4 separate regions of the Homo sapiens genome follow, and regions 1, 2 and 3 are each linked to region 4. Evidence: promoter capture Hi-C in 16 types of primary human blood cells and fetal thymus (Javierre and others, 2016). All regions are on one chromosome and are shown on one strand. The core of a region is centred on a gene start or on the middle of the fragment in contact, and the rest is flanking DNA. Distances in the headings are between cores, read along the strand shown. Region 1 has its middle 12 kb from the start of APLP2. Region 2 overlaps APLP2 (amyloid beta precursor like protein 2). Region 3 overlaps APLP2 (amyloid beta precursor like protein 2). Region 4 holds the start of NFRKB (nuclear factor related to kappaB binding protein).

The links. Contacts are between HindIII fragments. The CHiCAGO score rates a contact against its expected background, and 5 or more counts as called.
Region 1: a contact is called between a fragment that was not itself captured here and the fragment with the promoter of NFRKB in region 4, in 1 of 17 cell types (total CD4 T cells). The highest score is 5.0, in total CD4 T cells.
Region 2: a fragment that was not itself captured here is called in contact with the fragment with the promoter of NFRKB in region 4 in 13 of 17 cell types (total CD8 T cells, M2 macrophages, non-activated CD4 T cells and 10 more); the score reaches 7.4 in total CD8 T cells.
Region 3: a contact is called between a fragment that was not itself captured here and the fragment with the promoter of NFRKB in region 4, in 8 of 17 cell types (non-activated CD4 T cells, naive CD4 T cells, total B cells and 5 more). The highest score is 6.0, in non-activated CD4 T cells.

Annotation. Positions count from the first base shown.
Region 1 is chr11:130,054,542-130,060,999 of GRCh38, forward strand. No RefSeq gene overlaps it. Among named protein-coding and RNA genes, the nearest start is that of APLP2, 12 kb to the right of the region's middle. The HindIII fragment of the contact is 2,596 bases long and covers 490-3,085 here.
Region 2 is chr11:130,103,604-130,109,972 of GRCh38, forward strand. It overlaps APLP2 (amyloid beta precursor like protein 2), which reads left to right. Exons shown (of 17, transcript NM_001142276.2): 2 at 5,826-5,999. Among named protein-coding and RNA genes, the nearest start is that of APLP2, 37 kb to the left of the region's middle. RefSeq lists a silencer at 2,578-2,778. The HindIII fragment of the contact is 1,699 bases long and covers 1,350-3,048 here.
Region 3 is chr11:130,084,272-130,090,968 of GRCh38, forward strand. The region is part of intron 1 of APLP2 (amyloid beta precursor like protein 2); the gene reads left to right. Among named protein-coding and RNA genes, the nearest start is that of APLP2, 18 kb to the left of the region's middle. The HindIII fragment of the contact is 3,472 bases long and covers 2,390-5,861 here.
Region 4 is chr11:129,894,328-129,900,750 of GRCh38, forward strand. NFRKB (nuclear factor related to kappaB binding protein) reads right to left here and starts at 1,251. Exons shown (of 27, transcript NM_001143835.2): 1 at 1,169-1,251; 2 at 32-111. PRDM10 (PR/SET domain 10) reads right to left here. Exons shown (of 21, transcript NM_199437.2): 21 at 5,384-6,423. RefSeq lists a silencer at 968-1,407. The HindIII fragment of the contact is 7,376 bases long and covers 1-5,317 here.

The sequences.
Region 1 (6,458 bases), core at 538-3,037, 160 kb after region 4:
GAGGCAGGAGAATCACTTGAACCCGGGAGGCAGAGGTCGCAGTGAACCGAGATGGCGCCACTGCACTCCAGCCTGGGCAACAGAATGAGACTCCATCTCAATAAATAAGTAAATAAATAAATAAAATATGTCCTTGTATTTCCTCAAGGGAATGGTAAAAAAGGAGGGTGAGCCATTTGAGAAACCAAGGCAGAGATCTTGGATAACACATAAAGTAGATGAATGGTGGAGAGCTGATTTTTTGTTTTGTTTTGTTTTCATCAGACACTGAATTTAAATTAGAATTGACACATAACATAGCGAGTATAGAAAACAACAGAAATCACAACTGAACCCGCCCATCAAAATTTATAAAGAACTAAGCAAATTGTCATATAGATAAAGAATCAGATGGCGACCCATCCTTTACTTGTTCTTGAGGGCAGCAATCCTTGGGTCTGCAAGCCCTGCACATTTTGTCACTGTAAATTCAACCTCATACGTCCTGAAAGCTTCAATCTTAATTTATCTAGGGCAGCAGCCAAGAGCAAGATTAAAAACAACTACTGCAAGAATAACTTCTCCTTGCAAGGATGGGTTATTGCTCCATACATCAGTCTTTATGACTTGAAACTGTTACAATCTTTTTATTTGGTGATGTTAGCTTGATCTTGTGATATTCAAGTATCACTTATCCTCACCTAATATGTCACTTCTTGACACATGTGCTGTATAGTTTATCTTTGCTGTTCTCTGTGCACTTCAGTGTAAATAATTTCTGTTAGCTCTGAAAGGTTGCACATAGAGTGAAATCTCAGTGATTCGAGGAATAGGCATGCATTTTTGAATTGGTGCTTGTATTAAATATTCAATTGTGTCTGCCTCTCATAGTCTGTTTAGGAGCAATATCTTACTCTTTAGTTTCATTCCTAAATACTTTTTAGTATGCATCTCAAAGGGAAAAAAAGAATATTTTATCATATAATTACATCTAACATCATTGTTAGATGATTCTCAAGATGAATGTAAATTCCATAATATTTTACCATGACCATGTAATTTAGTGTGAGACTACCAGCAAGTACAGGTGACAATGACTCTGGTTTTCTGAAAAGATCTGAAGCAAATCTGGCCATTCCAAAATTAGCAGTATCTGAAGGCGTGATGGTGGTGTTAGTCACCACGTAGTGATCAGCGCCTTGCCTCATCTGCAGCTCATCTCAAAAAGGAGTGAAATACCACTTGCTACACTGGATCTGGAAACAACTCAAGTCATCGGCAGCCTCCATCATGTAAATGTAACAAGGGACTTAAAAGCTGATGTTGGGATGAATGTTTCTGGACTGCTGGATGCAGAACTCTTTTTATCTCAAAATAGTACAGACATCATCAAAAGTCCCTGTAGGGCAGGCATCCAGGAGCCGCTTTGAATGCTGCTGACTGTGCTTTTAAGGAGTTGTGCCAGAAATGTGATCATGAACAACTTCTCATAAGAAGTCGGGATAGAGAGAGCCACATGAAAGGGTCTCCAGAATGTGGATACCAAGTCACTCTTTGAAAGTAAAGCTACTGAGAATTTGCATATACTTTTAAAATTTTTTATTTTTATTTTATTTTAATTATTTTGAGACAGGGTCTTGCTCTGTTGCCCAGGCTGGAGTGCAGTGGTGCAATCATAGCTCACTACAGCCTTGACCTCCGGGACTCAAGTGATCCTCCCACCTCAGCCTCCCATGTAGCTGGAACCACAGGCATGCACCATTACACCCAGCTAATTCTTTTTTTAATTTTTTGTAGAGATGTGGCCCAGGCTGGTCTTAAACTCCTGGGCTCAAGCAGTCCTCCAGCCTCGGCTTCCCAAAATGCTGGGATTACAGACGTGAGCCACCATGACTGGCCTACCGTATACTTTTTTCAAGTAATCATCTGCAGAAGTAGTGGTGAAAATGGGGGAAACAGTCATTTCCAACAAATGGACGTAAAATATGTGGTAATGTTTAAGCAGCATGTGTCTAGTCTAGTACGTTAGACAGCCAGTTCTGAAAGGAGGAAGACCTGGGTTCAAATGCTGTTATTTCCACCTAGTTGCTACGTAATGTGAAACAAATTATTTAGTCTCATTAAGCCTCAGAGAGGCCAGGAGTTTGAGACCAGCCTTGCCAACATGGCGAAAACCCATCTCTTTTTTTTTTTTTTTTTTTTGAGACAAAGTCTCACGTTGTCTCCCAGGCTGGAGCATTATTCCATAATGCCCAGCCAGAAGCATTATTCTTAAGAGCCAAAAAGTGGAAACAACTCAAATGTCCATCAGCTGCTGAACAGACAAATTAAGTGTGGTCTAGGCTGGGCACAGTGACTCATGCCAGTAATCCTAGCACTTTGGGAGGCTGAGGTGGGAAGATTGTTTGAGGCCAAGAGTTTGAGACCAGCGTGGGCATAGCTGGGTTTAGTGGCGCATGCCTGTAGTCCCAGCTACTTGGTAGTCGGAGGCAGGAGGGTCGTTTGAGCTCAGGAGATTGCAATGAGCTATGATGGCGCCACTGCACTCCAGCCTAGGTGACAGAGCAAGACCCCATCTTAGAGAAAAAGAGAGAAATGTGGTCTAGCCATATGTTAACAAAAGGAATACTATTAATATTTGTCGATAAAAAGGAATAAAATAGTGATACATTGTACAACGTGGTTAAATCTTGAAAACATTACGCTTAGTGAAATAAGCTAGTCACAAAGACCGCATACTTCTTGATTCTGTTTATATGAAATGTCTGGAAAAGGCAAATCTGTAGATACAGAGAGTAAGATCTGTGGTTGCCTAAGGCTCGGGGAGGGAGCGTTGGAGGGAAATGGGGAATGGTTCCTAATGGGCACAATACTTCTTTTGGTGTGAAGAAAATGTTCTCAAATTTATTGTGGTGATGGTTGCATAAGTCTGTGAATACACTAAAAACCATTGAATTGTACACCTTAAATGGGTGAATCATATGGTGTGTATGTATCAATAAAGTATAGTATATGTTAATAAAGCTGTTATATGAAAAACAAAACAAAACAAACAACAAACCAGGAATAGACCTTGGGGTCTCCCCAAACCTCTTTTACCTTATGAAGCTTTGCCTGAGAAGTAAGCTGGGCTCACTCTCTGGCATTTCTTTTTCTTTTTTTTTTTTTTTTAAAGATGGGGCCTCACTCTGTCACCAAGACTAGAGTGCAGTGGTGTGATCTGGGCTCACTGCAGCCTCCACCTCCTGGGATCAATGTTTCAGTCTCCCAGGTAGTTAGAACCACAGGTGCACACCACTATGCCTGGCTGATTTTTTTTTTTTTTTTTTTTTTTTTGTAGAATCAGGGTCTCACTATGTTACAGCCTTCCTGGGCTCAAGTGATCCTCCAGCCTCAGCCTCCCAAAGTGCTGGGATTACAGGTGTGAGCCACCACATCTGGCCCTTCTTATATTTCTTAATTAAACGAACACCATCAATAAAAATGAAAAAACAATATGATATATTAGTTTGATCTGCATCTTACCTTCAACTCAAAGATTTTCAAATTTAATTTCAAATTTCAAGGTAATTTAAATCTGACGGGTTTCATAAATGCTACTTAATAAACATATATTCAATAATGCACAGAATAACACAGAGAAGCAAAAAATAAGGATGCTGGGAAGGACATTTAGGAAGCAGGGGGAAAGAGTAACTTGTGGCTAGCCTGGCAGTAAGATCTAAACTAAACTGAGTGTTGGGAACTATAGTCATTAACACTGTCTACTGCCCACTTGACACCCTTTCCCCAACTCCCCCTTCCTATTTGATTTTGTTATCCACCCCTCCCACACTCCTCCCACCCTCAATTCCTTGGGAGGTCCCAGTTGGCTGAAGGCATCCAGCGCATTTTGTTTGCGCCCCGTCTTCTTACCTCCGTTCCCTAGTTACTGACTCAGGGGTGAGTATGTGACCCTGTTCAATCAGAGAATGTCAGGACTCCTGTTGGGAAGGCTGGGCGAGAAGCTGTTTTTTCTTCTGGATAATTTCCTGTGCAGATGTAGGATGAGACCTGCAACTATTGTGAATGATCTGCCATCAGCCTGCAGGTGAAGCTTTCCCAGGAGGAGCAAGAGCATCACAGAGCCGTGAGCTGAGGTCCTGACGGAAACCATGCCTGATCCCTGCCCCTTTAGGCTTTTCCAGTTGTGTGGGTCAATAAACACTATTTTTCTTTCGATCAGGTTGAGTAGACATTTCTATTATTTACAGCCAAAAACATCCTGATGAGACAAGTGCTCCCTATAATTCTCATTAATTCATTCTAAATGAGTTAATATCTGCTAAGGCGCTTAGGACAATGCGTGGCATGTAGTGAGTGCTAATGAGAGTTATAGTTACTGTCATCGATAAAAGTGTTACTGTTACAAAATGAAGACAATAATGACTGCCCTGTCTTTTTTTTTTTTTTTTTCTGAGATGGAGTCTCACTCTGTCATCCAGGCTGGAGTGCAGTGGCGTGATCACAGCTCACTGCAACCTCCACCTCCCTGGTTCAAGCAATTCCCCTGCCTCAGCTGCCCAAGTAGCTAGGATTACAGGTGTACACCACCACGCCTGGCTAATTTTTTTTGTATTTTTAGTAGGGACAGGGTTTCACCATGTTGGCCAGACCTGTCTCGAACTCCTGACCTCAGGCAATCCACCTGCCTCGGCCTCCCAAAATGCTGGGATTACAGGTGTGAGCCACTGCACCCGGCAACAAGGTTTTATTTGTTTATTTATTTATTTATTGTTGTGACAGATTCTTGTCTGTCACCCAGGCATCATCGTGCCACTGCAGCCTTGAACTCCTAGACTCAAGGGATCCTCCCACCTCAGCCTCCCAAATAGCTGAGACTACGAGTGTGCACCACTGTGCCTGGCTGTTATTTTTATTTTTAGTAGAGACGGGTCTTGCTTTGCTGCCCAGGCTAAGTTATTGTTGATAAGATCAAGAAAGACAAAAGAAAAGTGAAAGATTACTCCCTCCGTTATAAACGTAACATATATCCATTATAGGAATATTTTTTAAAGAATAAAACAATCACTTATAATCCTATTATCCAGAAAAAAATATGTTGGTTCATTTTCTTTCAGTCGACTTTAAATGCATAAGAGAAATTTTTCCACATATGCAATTCCTACTATGACTTCTGAAATTTTAACACATCTTATAAGCATTTTTCCATAATTTATTCTCATTTGGATTATTTTCCTAGGATGGATTCCTAGAAATGAAATAAGTGAGTTTTACATGGTTCTTTTAAATATGAAAGGAAATGATGGACACAAAACAAATTTGAAAATTCAAAAGCGTCATACAAATATGAGCTTCTCTTTCCCTAAACTTGCACTGCAACCATAAATAACCAACCAGAACTACCTACTGTCCTGTACCAAGCCCTTATTATATGCTGTATGCTGAGCTAAACATGTAAGCATTTTATCCATTATTCCACTTAGTCTTTCTAAGATGCCTGCTAAAAAGCTGATGATATCCCATAGCTGTCAAGTTAAAGGACAAAATCATTGTCCCTTAGGAATCCTCTTCTCTCTCGTCATTCTTATATGGCATCATGCTACTTCCATGTTAATACCCACACAGATGCCTTTGCCTGGCTGAGCACCTGTTCGCCACAGCCACCTTCTTTGTCCAGGTGGCTCCCACCTTTCCAAACTCAGTTAAAGCATGTTTTCCTTTGAGAAGTTTTCCCTGTTATCCTAACACTTTTAAATGCTGAACTAAGAGCCTTTACTAAATTGAGATTAGGAAGCACAAGCAAAGTATATTGAACATAGTAGGTGCCAAATAAATATTGAATTAATTTTTTTTTAAGAGACAGGGTCTGCTGTGTTGCCCAGGCTGGCCTCAAATCCTCAAATTCCTAAGCTCATGCGATCCTCTCACTCCAGCCTCCTGTGTAGCTGAGGCTACAGGAGTGCTACCACATCTGACTCTTTAATGAATTATTATTACATGAACTTGGTGTAGATATCTCATCAGGAAATGTTGGTTACATTATTAATAAAATACACATTGTCCAGAAAAAGAATGAATTTTCTGGGTAGTTTGTGTTTAGTATGTGAAATATTGTGTTCAGTTTTGGATTCTATACTTTTAGAGGCTGATTGGTAAATTGGAATGTATACAGAGATCTAAGGATGGTAAGAATGGAAACAGTATTACAAGTAAAATGGTTAAAGAAGTGAATCTGTTTATTAAAGAAAAGACTTTGTATGGCCAGGCTTGGTGGCTCACGCCTATAAATCTCAGCACTTTGGGAGGCCGAGGTGGGCAGATCACTTGAGGTCAGGAGTTCAAGACCAACCCGTCCAACATGGCGAAACCCCATCTCTACTAAAAATACAAAAATTAGCCAGGTGTGGTGGCGCGTGGCTATAATCTCAGCTACTCAGGAGGCTGCGGCACAAGAATCACTTGAACCCGGGAGGCAG
Region 2 (6,369 bases), core at 949-3,448, 210 kb after region 4:
TGCGGTCTTTTAGCCAACAACCATAATGAGTAACATGTGGAACATAATCTTTGGTGCTGATAAATGGCTTTTTACGATGAAATTGACCATTCCACGCTGTGGCTTGGGTGACCTCATGTAACTAATTACTGTTTCTTAGCTATATTCACTTTTGGAATTTAAGGGGTAAATGGTTTCTCCTTCTGCAGGCTGAACTGCTGACAGATTAAATACCACCTGAAATCTGATTTGTTTAGTAGCTGTCTTTAATGTAAAAATATAGAAGGCCAGAGGGAATCTAGGAAACACTGCTCAGAAGCTTTCAGACTTAACTATAGGAGTTCATTCGTAGCAGGTTTAGGAAGCACATTCCTTCCGACCTGTAGATTGGGCTTTTCATATACGTATTTATCATGTCTTCTTGGATTTTCTTCATTTAATTCTATCTGAACTTTCGAAGTGGGAAGCAAAGGATTCGGGGGAGAGCACTGGTTTCAGTACACGAAAATATCCCTGGGGTTTCCTTACCTTTATCTTTGGATATCCCCATTTTTCTCGACACACAATCCAAGTTTCTAGCCATAATCCTTAGATTACAAAAGAACAGGACTTTTGGTACACATCTTTTTTTTTTTTTTTTTTTTTTTTTTTGAGACAGATTCTCTGTCTCTGTTGCCCAGTCTGGAGTGCAGTGGCGCAATCTCGGCTTCACTGCAACCTCTGCCTCCTGGGTTCAAGCGATTCTAGTGTCTCAGCCTCCCAAGTAGCTAGGACCATAGGCACGCGCCCCCATGCCTGGCTAATTTTTGTATTTTTAGTAGAGACAGGGTTTCACCATGTTGGCCAGGCTGGTCTCGAGCTCCTGACCTCAGATATCCACCTGCCTCAGCCTCCCAAAGTGCTGGGATTACAGGTGTGAGCCACCGTGCCGGGCTTGGTATGCATCTTGAACTAAGTGTGAAGATTAAGCACATCTGTCTTGTGCATCCTTTATACCTTTTAATGATTTGTTTGAATTAAGCACCACTAGAGTATTACCTATGAATAGGTGTGTGTTCCTTCCTACACATATCTTTAGGTGTTTTTTCCTTCTTTGGGGGAAGCAGGAACTCATATTAGTCTGTAGCTTCACGTGCATTCATACTGAAGGCATAGGGCCTTCTACTTTAATAAATGAATATTCGTTCCAGCAGGGTAAAGTCAATTCTAGTTAATAAAGGTGCTAATTGTTTGTTGGGTTTAACTGAGGTGTTTTTCAGCCCTGATAGATATTGGCAACATTTTAATTCCAAATTAGCTTTCTCCCAGCTGTCCAACAAGGGTTGGTGCTTCCTTCTCTTATACTAGTAGAAAGCAGGTTCATTTTAATAAGCTTCGAAGCAAAACATATGTCAGATGGTAAATTGGTCCTGGAAAAAGACCATAATATATTTCACAATCAAATTTAAGTTACTGATTAGAAGGATTGTTCATGTCTGTGTAGTTCATCAGCATAAATAAATTAAAGTTTCCTAGAAAATCATACATTTTCCACATATTTTAAAAGTCAGCTAGGCGTAGTATCTCATGCTTAGGATCCCAGTCCTTTGGGAGGTCAAGGCAGAAGGATCACTTGAGCCCAAGAGTTTGAGACCAGCGTGGGCAACACAATGAGACCCCATCTCTACCAAAATATAAATACGTGTATACTGGGTGTGATGGCGCATGCCTGTGGTCCCTGCTACTCAGGAGATTAAGGCTGGAGGATGGCTTGAGCCCAGGGGGTCGAGACTGTAATGAGCTGAGATTGCCCCATTGCACTCCACGTGGGTGACAGAGCAAGACCCTGTCTCAAAAAAAAAAGGGTGGGGGCATCAAAGCTACCCTTTCTTGTTAGTAGGAAAACCATGTCATGTATATGCTGTTTTTGAAAAGAACAACATGGTAGACCATATAATCTAACCCTCCTCCTCTACAAGTTTTAACTTAAGAACTGTTATTTGTTTATTTATTTTAATTTTGAAGAAAGTTTTGCAGTTGGGGACTCTTATGGCTATAACCACGAGTAATGGATGTTTTTAGAGAGATGCCTGTGCTTGTCTCTCTCTTTCTCTCTCTCTCTCCCTGTCTTTCTGTCTGCTTTTTTTTTTTTTTTTTTTGAGATGGAGTTTCGCTCTTGTTGCCCAGGCTGGAGTGCAATGGTGTGATCTCTGCTCACCGCAACATCTGCCTCCCGGGTCCAGGCAGTTCTCCTGCCTCAGCCTCCTGAGTAGCTGGGACTACAGGCATGTGCCACCACACCCGGCTAATTTTGTATTTTTAGTAGAGATGGGGTTTGTCCATGTTGGTCAGTCTGGTCTCGAACTCCCGACCTCAGGTGATCTGCCTGCCTTGGCCTCCCAAAGTGCTGAGATTACAGATGTGAGCCCCCACGCCCGGCCGATGCCTGTGCTTTTCTCGTGCATGTCTGCAGGAGCCTTGCTGTTGTAATGTTACTTCTCAGCTATAGCTTCTGAGCTGTTAATGGTTAGACTGCACATAAAAGGATATGGGCCAAAGACAGATCTTATGGAATAGTTGATTATTTTTACCCAACATGAGAGAAAATTGTTCATGAAATCCCCTTTAGTGTTCTGTGTTTATGAATGATGCCATCACATTTTGAATCATGGGAGCCAAACTTGAACCTTCCTCTTCCTCATCCCTCATATCAGTTATCACACCTAGGCCTATTTTAGGCTCTGTGGTTTCTTGAATCTCTCTATCCACCACTCCACCTTAGCCCAAGCTACCATTTATTCCTCTCTTGGAATGTGCACCTCCAGTGTCCTGAATGATTTCCCTGCATACACTCATTTCCTTTCAGTCGGTTCTTCACCGTGCAACTAGAGAAAGCATCAGAGCTTTGTTATGAAAATAGTAACTTTCTGCTTAAAGCCTCTCAACACTTCAGTGGTAAGGACTGAAGTCCTTTCTTGGTCTGCAGACTCTTGTCCCGGCATGCCTCTCCCACCATCTCTCTGCCTCAAAATCAACATTGCCTCCATATGGGATGCTTAAAGCGCTACTCAGCTGTCACTCTCTTTAGGAAGCTTCCTTGATCAGCTTCCTACCCAAGCTTAGGTCAGATTCCTTTTTTTTTTTGAGATTTGAGTCTTGCTCTCTTGCCTAGGCTGGAGTGCAATTGTGCAATCTCGGCTCACTGCAACCTCTGCCTCCCGGGTTCAAGCAGTTTTCCTGCCTCAGCCCCCTGAGTAGCTGTGATTACCGGCATCCGCCACCACGCCTGGCTAATTTGTGTATTTTTAGTAGGGACGGGGTTTTGCCATGTTGGACAGGCTGGTCTCGAACTCTCGACCTCGTGATCTGCCTGCCTTGGCCTCCCAAAATGGTAGGATTACAGGTGTGAGCCACCGCGCCCGGCCCAGATTCCTTTTTTATGTGCTTTCTCAACACTGTGTTCTTTTCCTTCTTAAGACATTTGGGAATGTGGTCACACTTTTTGTGAGTTTTAACTCTTGCATTAGAGCCCCAAGAAAGCAGGTCATGACTTTTTTGCCCACTCTTATATCCTAAACACTTAGCATGTTGCTTTGCGAAATAGTAGTTGCTCAGAAAATTTTCTTTTGTGGGTAAATTAAGTAAAATTATTGGAATTTTAGTAATTCTCCACTTTCATGATTTGGTGTGTGCAAAGGATTAGAAAGTAGATTAGCTTTTACGAGGACAGACTGCAGTTGGATTATATGTTCTAAAGTTAGAAGTATCCCAGATGGGGATTGAGGGTTAGATTTTTCCTTTGCCTAAGTCTCAGGATACAAAATCAATGTGCAAAAATCACAAGCATTCCTATACACCAATAACAGACAGAGAGCCAAATCGTGAGTGAACTCCCATTCACAATTGCTTCAAAGAGAACAAAATACCTGGGAATCCAACTTACAAGGGATGTGAAGGACCTCTTCAAGGAGAACTAGAAACCACTGCTCAATGAAATAAAAGAGGACACAAACAAATGGAAGAACATTCCATGCTCATGGATAGGAAGAATCAATATTGTGAAAATGGCCATACTGCCCAAGGTAATTTGTAGATTCAGTGCCATCCCCATCAAGCTACCAATGACTTTCTTCACAGAATTGGAAAAAACTACTTTAAAGTTCATATGGAACCAAAAAAGAGCCCGCGTTGCCAAGTCAATCCTAAGCCAAAAGAACAAAGCTGGAGGCATCACGCTACCTGACTTCAAACTATACTTCAATGCTACAGTAAGCAAAACAGCATGGTACTGGTACCAAAGCAGAAATACAGACCGATGGAACAGAACAGAGCCCTCAGAAATAACACCACACATCTAAAACCATCTGATCTTTGACAAACCTGACAAAAACAAGAAATTGGGAAAGGATTCCCTATTTAATAAATGGTGCTGGGAAAACTGGCTAGCCATATGTAGAAAGCTGAAACTGGATTCCTTCCTTACACCTTATACAAAAATTAATTCAAGATGGATTAAAGACTTAAATGTTAGACTTAAAACCATAAAAACCCCAGAAGAAAACCTAGGCAATACCATTCAGGACATAGGCATGGGCAAGGACTTCATGTCTAAAACACCAAAAGCAATGGCAACCAAAGCCAAAATTGACAAATGGGATCTAATTAAACTAAAGAGCTTCTGCACAGCAAAAGAAACTACCATCAGAGTGAACAGGCAACCTTGGGAGAAAATTTTTACAGTCTACCCATCTGACAAAGGGCTAATATCCAGAATCTACAAATAACTTAAACAAATTTACAAGAAAAAATCAACCCCATCAACAAGTGGGCTAAGGATATGAACAGACACTTCTCAAAAGAAGACATTTATGCAGCCAACAGACACATGAAGAAATGCTCATCATCACTGGCCATCAGAGAAATGCAAATCAAAACCACAATGAGATACCATCTCATACCAGTTAGAATGGCAGTCATTAAAAAGTCAGGAAACAACAGGTGCTGGAGAGGATGTGGAGAAATAGGAACACTTTTACACTGTTGGTGGGACTCTAAACTAGTTCAACCATTGTAGAAGACAGTGTGGTGATTCCTCAAGGATCTAGAACTAGAAATACCATTTGGCCCAGCCATCCCATTACTCGGTATGTACCCAATGGATTATAAATCATGCTGCTATAAAGACACATGCACACATATGTTCATTGCAGCACTATTCACAATAGCAAAGACTTGGAACCAACCCAAATGTCCATCAATGATAGACTGGATTAAGGAGATGGCACATACCATGGAATACTATGCAGCCATAAAAAGGTTGAGTTCATGTCCTTTGTAGGGACCTGGATGAAGCTGGAAAGCATCATTCTGAGCAAACTATCGCAAGGACAGAAGACCAAACACCGCATGTTCTCACTCATAGGTGGGAATTGAACAATGAGAACACTTGGACACAGGGTGGGGAACATCACACACTGGGGCCTGTCGTGGGGTGGGGAGAGGGGGGAGGGATAGCATTAGGAGATATACCTAATGTAAATGACAAGTTAATGGGTGCAGCACACCAACATGGCACATGTCTACCTGTGTAACAAACCTGCACGTTGTGCACATGTTCCCTAGAACTTAAAATATAATAAATAAAATAAATAAAAAAGTTTTTTCCTTTGCCTTTCACTTTGATCATACACATCCAGAAGTCACTTTTTATTCTGTTCTAGCTCCTGGGAAAAGGATTTGTTTGTGAAGATACAAATAGTAAATAATTAAGGTTTTTAAAAGATGCATTCTGTCACATAGACCTGAATGACTGTTGCCTCTGTGCTAGCCTTCTTGGAGTAAACCTGCAATTTTTTTCCCTTTGGTAGGCTCTTGCAGCCAATGCCGGAACAGGATTTGCTGTTGCTGAGCCTCAAATCGCAATGTTTTGTGGGAAGTTAAATATGCATGTGAACATTCAGACTGGGAAATGGGAACCTGATCCAACAGGCACCAAGAGCTGCTTTGAAACAAAAGAAGAAGTTCTTCAGTACTGTCAGGAGGTAAGAGTGTTGCCAGTAAGTTGAAAGTGTTATTTTTCTGGGGCAGGGTTGAATCTGTTTACCTTAGAAATAGATATTCTGTCATTCTCTTTTGACCTAAGACCAAGATGCTAATGACTGGAGCCCCAAGCCTTTTGTTTCTAAATGTGTGGCATGACTGAGACCTCTCAAAGGCTTTGCCTGCGTGTTCTGTGAGCTCTCAGTTCTTTAAGGAAGGGATACTGCAGAAGCCTGGCAAGTGCCATGGGAGTGCAGCCTGCTTCTCATCCTCCCACTTGTCTTGGAAGATGGAAAACAAAACATGTCTCCTTACTGACAGAAAGCCACCAGTATTGTAAAGGATCATCTCAGGTCTGATTCAACTCTGTGT
Region 3 (6,697 bases), core at 2,876-5,375, 190 kb after region 4:
TCTTTTGAGGGTATCATATTATTTTTGTCCTTCATTCTGTTAATGTGATATGCCACATTTTTTGGTTTGTATGTGTTAAACCATTCTTGCATCCCAGGGATAAATCCCACTTGATCCAGGTGTATGATCTTATTAATGTGTTGTCTGATTCAGTTTGCTAGTATTTTGTTGACATCCTTTGCGTCTGTGATTATCAGGGATATTGGCTTATAGTGTTCTTTTTTTTGTAGTGTCTTAATCCTATTTTGTTATTAGGGTAATGCTGGCTTCATGGGTGGAAATTAAACACACCCTTGGTAAACAGCAGTCTTAACCATTGAGCCAAAGAAGAAATCAAATGGGAAATTAGATGATGTTTTGAACGAATGAAAACACAACATACCAAAACCCTTGGGATGCAGCAAAAGCACCACTGAGAGGGAAGTTTATAGCAGTAAATGCCTACATTAAAAAAATAAGAAAGATCTCAAACAGCCTAATTGTACACCTCAAACTAGAAAAAGAATAAGCTAATCCCAAAGTGAGCAGAAGGAGGAAAATAATTTGCAACAGAATAAATGAAAACAGAATAGAAAAAAACAATAGAAAAAAATCAAAGAAAGAGTTGGGTTTTTGAAAAGATAAGCAAAATTGACAAACCCTTGGCTAGACTAAGAAAAACAGAAGACACAAAATCAGATATGAAAGAGGAGACATTACAATTGATACCATGAAAATAAAAAGTATCGTGAGACTATTATGAGCAGTTGTATGCCAAAAAATTGGATAACCTAGAAGAAATGGGTAAATTTCTAAAAACGTGCAAACTACCAAGACTGAATCATGAAGAAATAGAAAACTTGAGCAGATCAGTAACAAATAAGAAGATTGAGTCAGTAATCAAAAACCTCCCAACAGGCTGAGTGCGGTGGCTTATGCCTGTAATCCCAGCACTTTGGGAGGCCGAGGTGGGTTGATCACCTGAGGTCAGGAGTTTGAGACCAGCTTGGCCAACATGGCGAAACGCCGTCTCTACTAAAAATACAAAAAAATTAGCCAAGCATGGTGGTAGGTGTGTGTAATCCCAGCTACTCCGGAGGCTGAGGCAGGAGAATTGCTTGAACCTGGGAGGCAGAGGTTGCAGTGAGCTGAGATTGTGCCAGTGAACTCCAGTCTGGGCAACAGAGCGAGACTCCATCTCAAAAAAAAAACCAAAAAACAAAACAAAACAAAAAAAACTTCGAACTAAGGAAAGCTCAGGACCAGATGACTTCACTGGAGAATTCTACTAAACATTAAGGAAGAATTAACACTAATCCTTCTCATAGTCTTCCAAAATATTGAAGAGGGAACATTTTCATTTTAACTGTTTTTAAGTGTACAATTCGGTGGCATTAAGGACATCCACAACATTGTGCAACCATCCCCGCTGTCCATTTCCAGTACTTTTTCATCCAAACAGAAACCCTGTACCCATTAGACACTAACTTTCTATTCCCCTGGATCCCCCAGCCCCTGGTGATCTATGAATTTGCCTATTCTGGGGCTCAAGTAAGTGAAATCATAAAATATGTCCTTTTGAGTTTGGTGTATTTAGTATATTTTCAAGGCTTGTGCATCAGAATTCCATTCCTTTTCGAGACTGAGTAATATTCCATTGTGCATATATACCACATTTTGTTCATTCATCTGTTAATGGGCACTTGGGATGTTTCTACCTTTGGCTACTGTAAACAATGCTGCTATGAAAATTGGCGTACATGTAGATATGGGAGTCCCTGCTTTCAGTTCTTTCGGATATTTACTAAGAAGTGAAACTGCTGGATCATATAGTAATTCTGTGCTTAAATTTTTGAGAAATTGCCAAACTGTTTTCCACAGTGACTTTACTGTTCTCCAGTCCCACTGACAGTGGACAAAGGTTCCAATTTCTCCACATCCTTGCCAACAGTTACTTTCCTTTTTCAAATAATAGCTATCCTAATGGGCGTGGAGCGGTGTCTTATTGTTTTGATTTGCATTTCTCTAATAGCTAGTGATGTTGAGTATCTTTTCATGTTGACCATTTTTATATCTTTGGAAAAATGTCCGTTGAAGTCTTTGGCCCATTTTCGAATTAGATTGTTTTGTTGCTATTGTTGAATTGTTGGAGTTCTTTATATATTCTGGATGTTAATTAGATATGTGATTTGTAGATATTTTCTGTCATTCTGCAGTTTGTGTTTTCACTCTCAATAGTGTCCTTTGATGCACAAAAGTTTAACTTTGATGAATTCCAGTTTATCTATTTTTTTCTTTTGTTGCCTGTAGTTTTGGTGTCATTTTTAAGAAATCGTTGTGAAATATAATGTTATGAAGCTTTTCTCCTAAGTCTTCTTCTAAGCTAAGAGTTTTATAGTCTTAGCTCTTAAGCTTAGGTCTTTGATCCATTTTGAGTTCAGTTTTGTATATGGTTTAAGGTAAGGGTCCAGCTTCACTCTTCTGCAAGTTGCTATCCAGTCTCTGCAACATTTGTTGCATCCCCATTCAATTGTCCTGGCAGATCAATTGACCAAACATGTGAGGATTTATTTCTGGGCTCTCTATTCCAAATGTCTGTCTTTATGCCAATATCACACTGTTTGATTACTGTAGCTTCGTAGTAAGTTTTGAAATCAGGAAGTATGAGTCTTCCGTCTCAAGATTGTGTGATTTCATATGAATTTTAAGATGGATTTTTCTGTTTCTGTGAAAAAACAAAACAAAACCCTGTTGGGCTATTAAGTATTGCATTGAATCTGTAGATTGTTTTAGGTAGTCTTGTCATAACAGTATTGTCTTCTAACCCTCAAATGCCATAGAGCTTTAAAGTTAATTATTGTAAATTAGTAATTAACAGAATACAATTACTTTTAGTTTACACTATGGCTTTTGAGTGTAAGGTGTTTGGTGAATTTTATTCTTTTAGAGTAACTGTCATCAGCGTCCTCACTGTGATACCTAGTACGTAACCTAAAGTTGAGGTTGAAGACCTGCAGTCTGCAGGCAGAATGTGACCTGTCCTTGTGTTTTATTTGGCTGTTACCATTTGACCTTCCTTGTGTCTTAAATTCAAAGTAAATATATTCATTTCCAAAGATCATGGGTTTTAATATAAAAATTCCGCTCTGGTTTTAAAGAAATTAGAACATCTGGCAGCAGGGGCTAAGTAGTGGCAGCCCCGCTTCAGTTGGTGAAGAGAGCCTGTGGTCTCTTCGAGGGGGCTGAGTATGGGTCTCCATTTTGGTCTTACCCTCTAGCTCCCCATTCCCTGTCTGTGATGTAGAGGCAGTTGAGTTTTCAACCTTTGTTGAAAACGAGGAAAAGAGAACATTGGTTTGAAATGATCTTTTGTAGTAAATATTTAACACCATGGCAGGTTTCAAGTGAACCAAAAACCACATTTCATAGCAGAATGGCCCTGCGATTGGTTGGACTCCACCCTGCCCCTTATCCTCTTCTGAAGAGGCTTTCTGTGTAATACTGTAGAATGTTTTTCCGTCTAGCCACTTCCTATTAGAAGAATGATTATTTGCGGCTTGATTAGCTTCCTCAGGATCTACATTAAAAAAAATCCTGCTGGGCTATTGTTTTGCAAGATTAATCTTGTGAATTGATAAAAGTCATTGAAACTCAATGTTGGTTAGTGTTGTTTTTAAACAATAGGAATAGTATTCAGGACAGATTAAAATCAGATTAAAATATTTTAAGTATTGCTTTTAAAAGATTAAATACAGAGCACAGACTCAAGCCTGATAAGCTCCCAGCCAAACAGTTTTTACATGTAGTTTTCCCTGTGTATGTGTAGTCAGTGAAGATGCTGAACTTGTCACAAAATGTGGATGCATGAGGCATATTATTGTAACTTGAATTCAGATGGCCCCAAAATTACCCCATTCACTCAGCATAATTGGTTAAACTTGGTCTGGGTGATATCTGTAAGTCATCAAAGGAAGGAATTTTAGGACAAGGAAAGGATGGTTTGATTGTTCCAGGGGGGAAAAAACCATAAAATTTTAAGAAAATCATTGTTCAGGGAAGGCTGCAAGCACTGGTAAGGAAACAGAGTTTTCCAATAAGTTAACTGAAATCGGGAGTAACAGACCTCTGAAGAGTCTATCTTTGGGAAAATCTCTGACTTCATTCTTGACATGATTGAGGACTTCATGTACAATGAATTAGCAATGCGAATCATCTAGGCATATAAACTGGAAGGAAATAAGAAGGTTTGTAGAGCAAGCAACACCAGATACTCATGCTTGCTCCAGAGAAGTTTTCCAGGAAAAGCAAATGTCATCTTCTCTCTCTGCTTCACTAACTTTAAATTTTGAGACCTCAGGCAGTCTAGTCCATGAAGAAAACACTCCAGAATGACCGAGATACTTAAGTTTTTAACAACATTTAAAATAATATGAAAAATAAAATAAAATGTTGTTAAAAACTTAAGTATCTCAGTCATAATTTGTGTCCTTTTTTTTCTTTTGATATTTGTTCAGAAATAGACTCCCAACTTATAATATTAATAATATACCTGTAGAAAATAGGGACGGCCTTCTTTTTTTCACATTGCACAGTCTCCCCCAGGTGGTTCTGCCTAATCTCTAGGCTTAAAATTCTTCCAGCCTGGTAATGAATAGAAAATCCTTACTTCCAGCTCACGTTACCCTCTGGAATGCCCATCCTCTATTTTTGTCTGGTGGACAAAAAACGCGGCACTTGGTAAGCTGTGAGTCCTTCCAGTATGATGCCACTCAAAACTGAAGTTTATCAGTCTCCAATCCTCAGCCCCCTCCCTACCACCCGTCCAATTTCTTTGGCTGTTAGCCTTGCCATTCTCCCAGTTGTCAGAATTAGAAAGCTGGACTCATTCCAATCCTTCCTTCATGTCCCCTGTCCAAGTATTTCTCATCTGTCACTTTCCTATTCACACTGCTCCTGCCTTTGTTCATCATCTTTTGCCTGGATGAATGCAGTGGCTTCCTAACTGGTCTCCTTTCTATACTTCATCTTTCCTGATCACACCCTCCTACCTTCCAAAGTATGCATAGCAGGGTCATGCACACGCTGGAAGGGAGCCCAAGCACACTTTCCTTGGAGAAGAGTTCTGAAGGCTCAGCCCCTCATCCTCCGTAGCTGTCGCTCTCCTGTGCCAAGTCCGTGCATGCCTCTGTTACAGCTCTTCTCAGTTGCAGCATGCTCACTGTCTCCATGTCCTCACCTCACATTCACAGCGTGCACCTTACATTGTAATCCTGTTTCTCTACATCTGGATCCTGTCTCAGAGTATATATGCTCCCTAAATACACATGTTGAGTCTTGTTTACCCAGTGTGTTTGTTTGCTAGAGCTGCTGTAACAAAGATGCCACAAATGGAGTGACTTAAGCAACAGAAATTTATTGTTTCACTTTTCTGGTTTTCTGGAGGCTAGAAGTCCCAGTTCAAGGTGTTAGCAGGACTGGACTCCTTCTGAAGGCACTAACAAAGGGCCTGTTCCAGGCCTCGCTCTTGGCTTTTGGCAGCGTAACTCCATCTTCACGTGGCGCTCCCTCTGTGTGCATGCATGTCTGTCTGTTCACATTTCGCCTTCTCAGAAGGACACCAGTCATATTGGATTAAGGGCCCACCCTGCTCCAGTATGACCTCCTCCCACTTACATCAGCAGTGACCATATTTCCAAATAAGGTCACATTCAGAGGTATTTGGGGCTAGGATTTCAGTAAATGAAATTTGAGGCCCTATTCAACCTATAAGACCCAGTGGCTAGTGTGTTGACTGACATAACTGTAAAGTAATCAAGTGAAATGATCTTTGAATAAAGGGTCAGAATTTTATTTTCTTCAAAGTTATGTTTATGACAAATAAAAGCTTATGATCTTGGGAATACTTTCCCATCTCTAGTTTTCCAGTATATTCATAGTAGCTGTTGAATTGTTGCGCGTCAAAAGATGCTGGTGGAGTATTCTAGTTCTAGCTCTGTCTTTTTTTTTTTTTTTTTTTTTAAATTTATTTTTTTATTGATAATTCTTGGGTGTTTCTCACAGAGGGGGATTTGGCAGGGTCATGGGACAATAGTGGAGGGAAGGTCAGCAGATAAACAAGTGAACAAAGGTCTCTGGTTTTCCTAGGCAGAGGACCCTGCGGCCTTCCGCAGTGTTTGTGTCCCTGATTACTTGAGATTAGGGATTGGTGATGACTCTTAACGAGCATGCTGCCTTCAAGCATCTGTTTAACAAAGCACATTTTGCACCGCCCTTAATCCATTTAACCCTGAGTGGACACAGCACATGTTTCAGGGAGCACAGGGTTGGGGGTAAGGTCACAGATCAACAGGATCCCAAGGCAGAGGAATTTTTCTTAGTGCAGAACAAAATGAAAAGTCTCCCATGTCTACTTCTTTCTACACAGACACGGCAACCATCCGATTTCTCAATCCCTTCCCCACCTTTCCTGCCCCTCCACTCCACAAAGCCGCCATTGTCATCCTGGCCCGCTCTCAATGAGCCGTTGGGCACACCTCCCAGACGGGGTGGTGGCCGGGCAGAGGGGCTCCTCACCTCCCAGTAGGGGCGGCCGGGCAGAGGCGCCCCTCACCTCCCGGACGGGGCGGTTGGCCGGGCGGGGGGGCTGACCCCCCCCATCTCCCTCCCGGACGGGGCGGCTGGCCGGGCGGGGGGCCGACACCCCCACCTCCCTCCCGGA
Region 4 (6,423 bases), core at 1-2,500:
TTCCACAAACACCACATTCCACAAATCTTACCACGCCAGGTGTCAATTTCCTTATTTGAGGAAGGGAAGCTGGACCAGGTCCTCCCTCCCGTTATTTCCAATTCTGGAATCCTGCAATGAATAATCTCTAGATGAGTGACAGTGTGAATTACGTAATACAGGTACTTTTCTTTTCCAAAATTCTCCAATGATAAAGAACAGTTCTAGAATAACTATATGTAAAATGAAGCATGTTCCACTAAATTATTTCAAGCTCCCTTGAAGAGATTTCAGATCCATGTAAAGATATAGCAGAAACTTAAGCGTTGAGTCAAGTCACGTGGGTGGTCCCCAAGCAACTGTGCCCCCTCATCACCCTTCAGCACATGGTGAAATGACATCCTCATCATGCCTATGCCTAAATAAGTGAAGCGGGTGAGACAGCACATAGCATGTGAGTTTAACAAAACTTCAAAATAGCACCAAAAAAAAATTGCAGAAGCAACCTGATGCTCAGAATAAAACCTTCTTAACAGAACTGGCATAGAACAGACTATCAACTGCAAAGTCAGTGTCCTACCTGCCTCTTAGGAGGTCTCTATACAACTTGCTCACAAGTTTCTTCAGTGACGGTGCGTGTCTAGCTAAAGTTAATCTAGTCCACTGACAACCTTTGCACTGCCACTATTCTGAACAGAATCTCAAAATACCAAAACCAGGCAGCTGCCAGGGAGTTGGACCCCGGAAGCCAAGGATTTCCAGATCTTCGGGCGTTCTGAACCTCTTCACTAGACCACGAAGGCCTCTCGGCCTCTCATCACTGGCTTTCAGCACCTGGTCTAACTTTCCCCGCTGGACCCTCCCCAACGCAGAAGCTAAACCCTCGGGTCCTTCCAGAGCAACCGCCGGCTCCAAAGCCCTCAACTCTGCAGCAAATTCCCCTCCGGTGCCAGCCCGGCTGGCCCAAGGCCCGGGTCCAATCCTCAGAACTGCACGGCTCGGCCCCGCCCCTCCCCCACGCCGTGCCTAACCCTAACCCCCAGCCTCACGCGTCGCACCGCTCCCCACGCCCCGCTCCCGCTCCCCACGCCCACACGGGCAGCGACCTCGCGGACCCAGCCGCCCGCTCCCGCTCCCTCCACTCCCAGGAGACACTTCAACCCTTTCGCCGCCCCTTGCCCGCCCTCACCTGAACCGCGGGCGCCGGCCCCCTAACCCGCAGCCCTTCTCCGGCCGCGGGCTCCCAGACGCACTCGCTCCCGCAAGGAGTCTGGGTGCGCGCACGCTCTGGGCCTGCGCGGCGGAAGGGGCGGGGCAGCGCGGGGCGGGGCCTGGAGGGTGCCGGGGCGGGGCCACAGCGGGCGGGTCCTGGAGCGGCTCGGGAGAGCGGAGGGTCGGCGAGGGTGCCTGCGCGCGGCTGGGCCTGGGGATGCAGGTTCCAGCCTGCTTGCGCGTCTCACCTGATTTAGGAGCTTCCAGAGGCCCCAGACAGTGCCTGTCTTTGCCTGACCGCGAATCAAAGTTCCATAGCCCGTGAGCGAAGGCACGTCTATTAGCTGACGTTTGCAGAGAGCATACCCTGCCCCAGGCCCTATGCTAAGCACTTTCTACCCACCGTCTTTGTGCTGCAGCCCTGTGAGCTATGCACTATTAGTGCCCATTTTACAGTTGAGGACATGAGTAGAACGCGACCTCAGCCTGTGCTTCCGAGTTCCTTCATTCCTCCTTCCCGTCCCCGGGCCCTCGATGTCCAGAAAGAATGTAAACACATCGAAGGATCACATTTTAAAGTTAAACTCCATCATTTTCCTCTTCTTAGATATGAAGGCCCCTTTCCTGTTATTCACTGGGTTTTGCTTAGTACGGCTTCACACTACTTATTCCAGGTACTCCCAGCAGTGGCGCAGAGACCATCCTCAGTTCTGTGTGTGGATGGGACCAGAGAAGCCGGCCGGCCGAGCTAATGTTCTTCCCTTCCTGGAAGAGAGTAGTTTCCAAACAACCCGATCTCTGTTCCTCTACTGGCTCCACATATGCTCTAAGTTCCTGTTACACTGTTGAGAGGCTCTTGAATTAGAAACTATCGAGTATAAATGGCAGTGGAATATCACTCTATAGTTGTCACCGATATTTCCCTTACCTTGAGATTGTGACAAGACCAGAAAGAGAAAAAGAGTAAAAACAATGTAAACTATAATTTTTGATAGACTTTGTTTTTTTAAAGTGGTTTAAAGTTAACAAAATTGAGCAGAAAGATATTTTCCAAATACTCCCCGCCCCACCTCCCCACATGCATCGCCTTCCCTTTATCAACATCCTCTACCAGAGTGGTACATTTCTTAGAACTGATGAACCCGGCCCGGCCTGGTGGCTCACGCCTGTAATCCCAACACTTTGGGAGGCCGAGGCGGGCGGATCCCGAGATCAGGAGATCGAGACCATCCTGGCCAACATGGTGAAACCGCGTCTCTACTAAAAATACAAAAATTCGCCGGTCGTGGTGGCGGGCACCTGTAGTCCCAGCTACTCGGGAGCTGAGGCAGGAGAATTGCTTGAACCGGGGAGGCGGAGGTTGCAGTGAGCCGAGATTGAGCCATTGCACTCCAGCCTGTCGACAGAGCGAGACAGAGCGAGACTCCATCTCAAACAAAAGAACTGATGAACCTACATTGATACATCATTACCCACCATCACAGTATAATGCAGAGTAATTTCACTGTCTTAAAAATCATCTGTGCTCTGCATATTCATCTCTCCCTCTCCTCTACCCCTGGCAACCGCTGATCTTTTTGTCTCCATAGTTTTGCCTTTTTCCAGAGTGTCATCTAGTTGGAATTACATAGTATGTAGCCGTTTCAGATTGGCTTCCTTCCCGTAGTAACAGGCATTGAAGTTTCCTCCATGTCTTTTCATGGCTTGATAGCTCCTATTTCTTTTTAGTGCTGAATAATATTCCATTGTGTCGATATATCACAGTTTTATCTATTCGCTTACTGAAAGATATCTTCATTGTTTCCAGGTTTTGGCAATTATGAATCAAGCAATTATGAATCAAACAACCCAGAAATCCAACCACCCACTCCAGGCATCTTTGCATGAACGTATCAAAAACACCTCAGTCCCAATGCCCAGGATCTTCCCCTTTGAGAGGCTGAGATGGGTGGATCACTTGAGCCCAGGAATTGGAGACCAGCCTGGGCAATATGGTGAAACCCCATCTCTACTAAAATAAATACAAAAAATTAGCCAGGTGTGGTGGCACGTGCCTGTAGTCCCAGCTACTCAGGAGACTGAGGTGGGAGAATCGCTTGAGCCAGGGAGATCGAAGCTGCCGTGAGCTGTGATTGCACCACTGCACTCCAGCCTGGGCAACAGAGTGAAACCCTGTCTCAAAAAAGTAAAAAGAAAAATAAAACAACAAAGAATAAGTAAGACTTTTCCTTTACCTTCATTATTAAAGGTAATAATGATGTTCTTTCTTTATATAGATCTGAGGTTCTGACTTTTATCATTTTTCTTCTCTCTGAAAAACTTAACATTCTCTCCAAGGCAGGTCTACTGGCAACAAATCCCCTTTGCTTTTGGGGGATAATTTCATGGGCTACAGCATTCTAGGTTAGACACTGCTTTTTTCTCTCAACACCTTAAACATTTCATTCCACTCGCTCCTTGTGTGCACAGTTTCTGAAGAAAAGTCATTTTTTGTTCATTTGTTTTTTGGTTTTGAAGGATTTTTTTGCATTTATCCTGTGTGTCCTCTGAGCTTCCCGGATCTGTGGTTTCATCTTCCATATTGATTTGGGGAAATAATCAATCATTATTGCTTCAAATATTTCTTCTGTTCCTTTCTCTGTCTTCTGCTAGTATTCCCATGAGGCATAGTTATACCTTTTTTTCATCATCTCACAGTTTTTGGATATTGTTTGTCTTTCAGTTATAGAGGTTTCTATTGAGATATCCTTAAGCTCAGCAATTCTTTCCTAAGATGTGTCTAGTCTACCATTTAGCCTCTCACAGCTACTCTTCATGTTTTTTTTTTTTTTTTTTTTTTTTTTGAGGTGGAGTCTTGCACTGTGACCCAGGCTGGAGTGCAGAGGCGCAATCTCAGCTCTCTGCAACCTCCACCACCCAGGTTCAAGCGATTCTCCCACTTCAGCCTCCTGAGTAGCTGGGATTACAGGCACCCACCACCACGCCTGGCTAATTTTTGTATTTTTAGTAGAAGCAGGGTTACACCGTGTTGGCCAGGCTGGTCTTGAACTCCTGACCTCAAATGATCCACCCACTTCAGCCTCCCAAAGTGCTGGGTTTACAGGCATGAGCTGCCGTGCCCAGCCTACTCTTCATTTTTTATCTCTAGCATTTTAGCTCATTCTTAGGATTTCCATCTCTCTCCTTACATTGTTTGTTATTGCTTGTTGTCTACTTTCTCTAGTAGAGCCCTTTTCATATTAATCACAGTTGTTTCAAATTCCCAGTCTGTGAATTCCAACATCTCGGCCATATCTAATTCTGGGTCTGATGTTTGCTCTCTTTCTTCAAACTTGTGTCTTTTGCCTCTTAGTATGCCTTGTAATGTTTTTCTTGATAGCTGGTCATGATGTGCCAGGTAGAGAGAGCTTCTGTAAGTAGGCCTTTAGCAATGTGGTGGTAAGGTGTTGGGGTTGGGGAAGCATTCTGTATTCCTAAAGGAGGCCTCAGTCTTCTGGTGAGCCTGTGCCTCTGGACTGTGAACTTCACGAATGCTACGCAGTTATCCCCTCTTAGATGAGGGACAATGGCTGGAATGGGCTGGGGCTGGCTATTTCCTTTCCTCCAGGTGACTGAGGTTCTGCTATAACTTCAGCAGGTTCGGTGCTTGTTATAATAGAAAGATCAGAAAGCTCTGGAGTATTTCAAAATGGTTCCTTCTCCCCTTCCTCTGCTGGAAGCATGAGGGAATTTTTCTCCAAATTTCACTGTGAGAACCTAGTCAAGCTCCTGGGGATAAAACTCACAAAAGTGTGGGTCTCCCTTGACCCCCCCTCCAGTGACTGAGTTCCCTGGAGTTTTTAACCTCTCAGATTTCTCCACGCTGAGCCTGCAGCAATTCATCAAATATAGTTCAAGTTTTCCTACCCTGGCGCTGGTTCTCATAGAGGTTATTGATCGTGGATTTTTTTCTCACGGGTTTCTGTTCAATAAGCTATGATTCTCTGTATTTGCCTGTTTGTCTTTCCAATTTTGGGGACAGCAGTTTGTCCTGTGGGCTCAACTTTCTGATGGATCTAAGGAGAGATGTTGATCTTTCCATTTGCTCAGCTTCTTACTTATTGCTAGGATGGAGGGACAACTTCCAAGCTTCCTGTATGCCACGCTGGAAACCAAAAGTTGCAATTCTTCAAAGAAAAAAAAATAGCTCTTGTAGCTTCACACATACAAACATGTTTATTAAAAAATATATTTATTAATTTTTACACCTGCTGCATAGCACAAGACTATTAACACTATAACTCACTGAATGTACAATAAATGTTCACATTTAAATAACAGGATAGGGTCAACATTTTCAACCAGTGGGTCAGCTTTAGCATCTCATGAAGTGCTTTTTAGACCTAGATATCTTAAGAGTTTTTTTGAAAGGATACTTCCAAGTCAGAAAACAAGAAGATCAAAACAATAGGTTTTTCCAGAATAACAGGAATTTTACATGATGAAATGTCTATTTCTGTCGGTACAAATCAATGATAAAAACAAAATCTACATCCAACCTACTCCAAAATACTCACACTGGACTGAATGAAGTCTACAGTGTCAATGTGTCTTGAGAGAGGCCACAATATCCACACTGGCTACATACATGTTTTCCAAATTAAGTTTTCTGATGGCTCATCATTTGCCATCTCTTCAAATCCAGGTCCTTTTAAAAATCTATGACCTTGGAATGAATGTGCAGAATACCTGATCTGAAAGCCATGCGATTTGGCTCGACTGCCATCCGCATCTCTGGCTGATAATATACAAATTAGTTTTAGAGTCTTTATTTCACTTAAGGACCAAAGAAGAAGAAGAAGAAGAAGAAGAAGAAGACAACTTAGAAGGGAAAGCAACAAAGAGGTCCTTCCACAATATTTTCCTCTGTGTATTTTAAAACTTAAAACAACTGCCATAAAATGAACATTCCATTCAGTGATTCTTTTCAGTTTTCCAATAAGTTATTCCTGAAGGGAGGGGAGATACCTTATGGTTCAAATTAAAAAGAACGTAACAGGGCCAAATTTAAGTTATAAAAGCTAAAACTGAACCTTTAGAAAATTCCACTAGTCTTCTCCTAGAAAGTCTTTCTAGACCGGACACTAGGATATTTGTAATCATTACACTGTGGGACTTAGGGAACCCGAACCTGTGTTTTGCAATGCAGGGTCAATATTTTCTGTTGAATATCTTTGTCACAAAGAGAGTCCA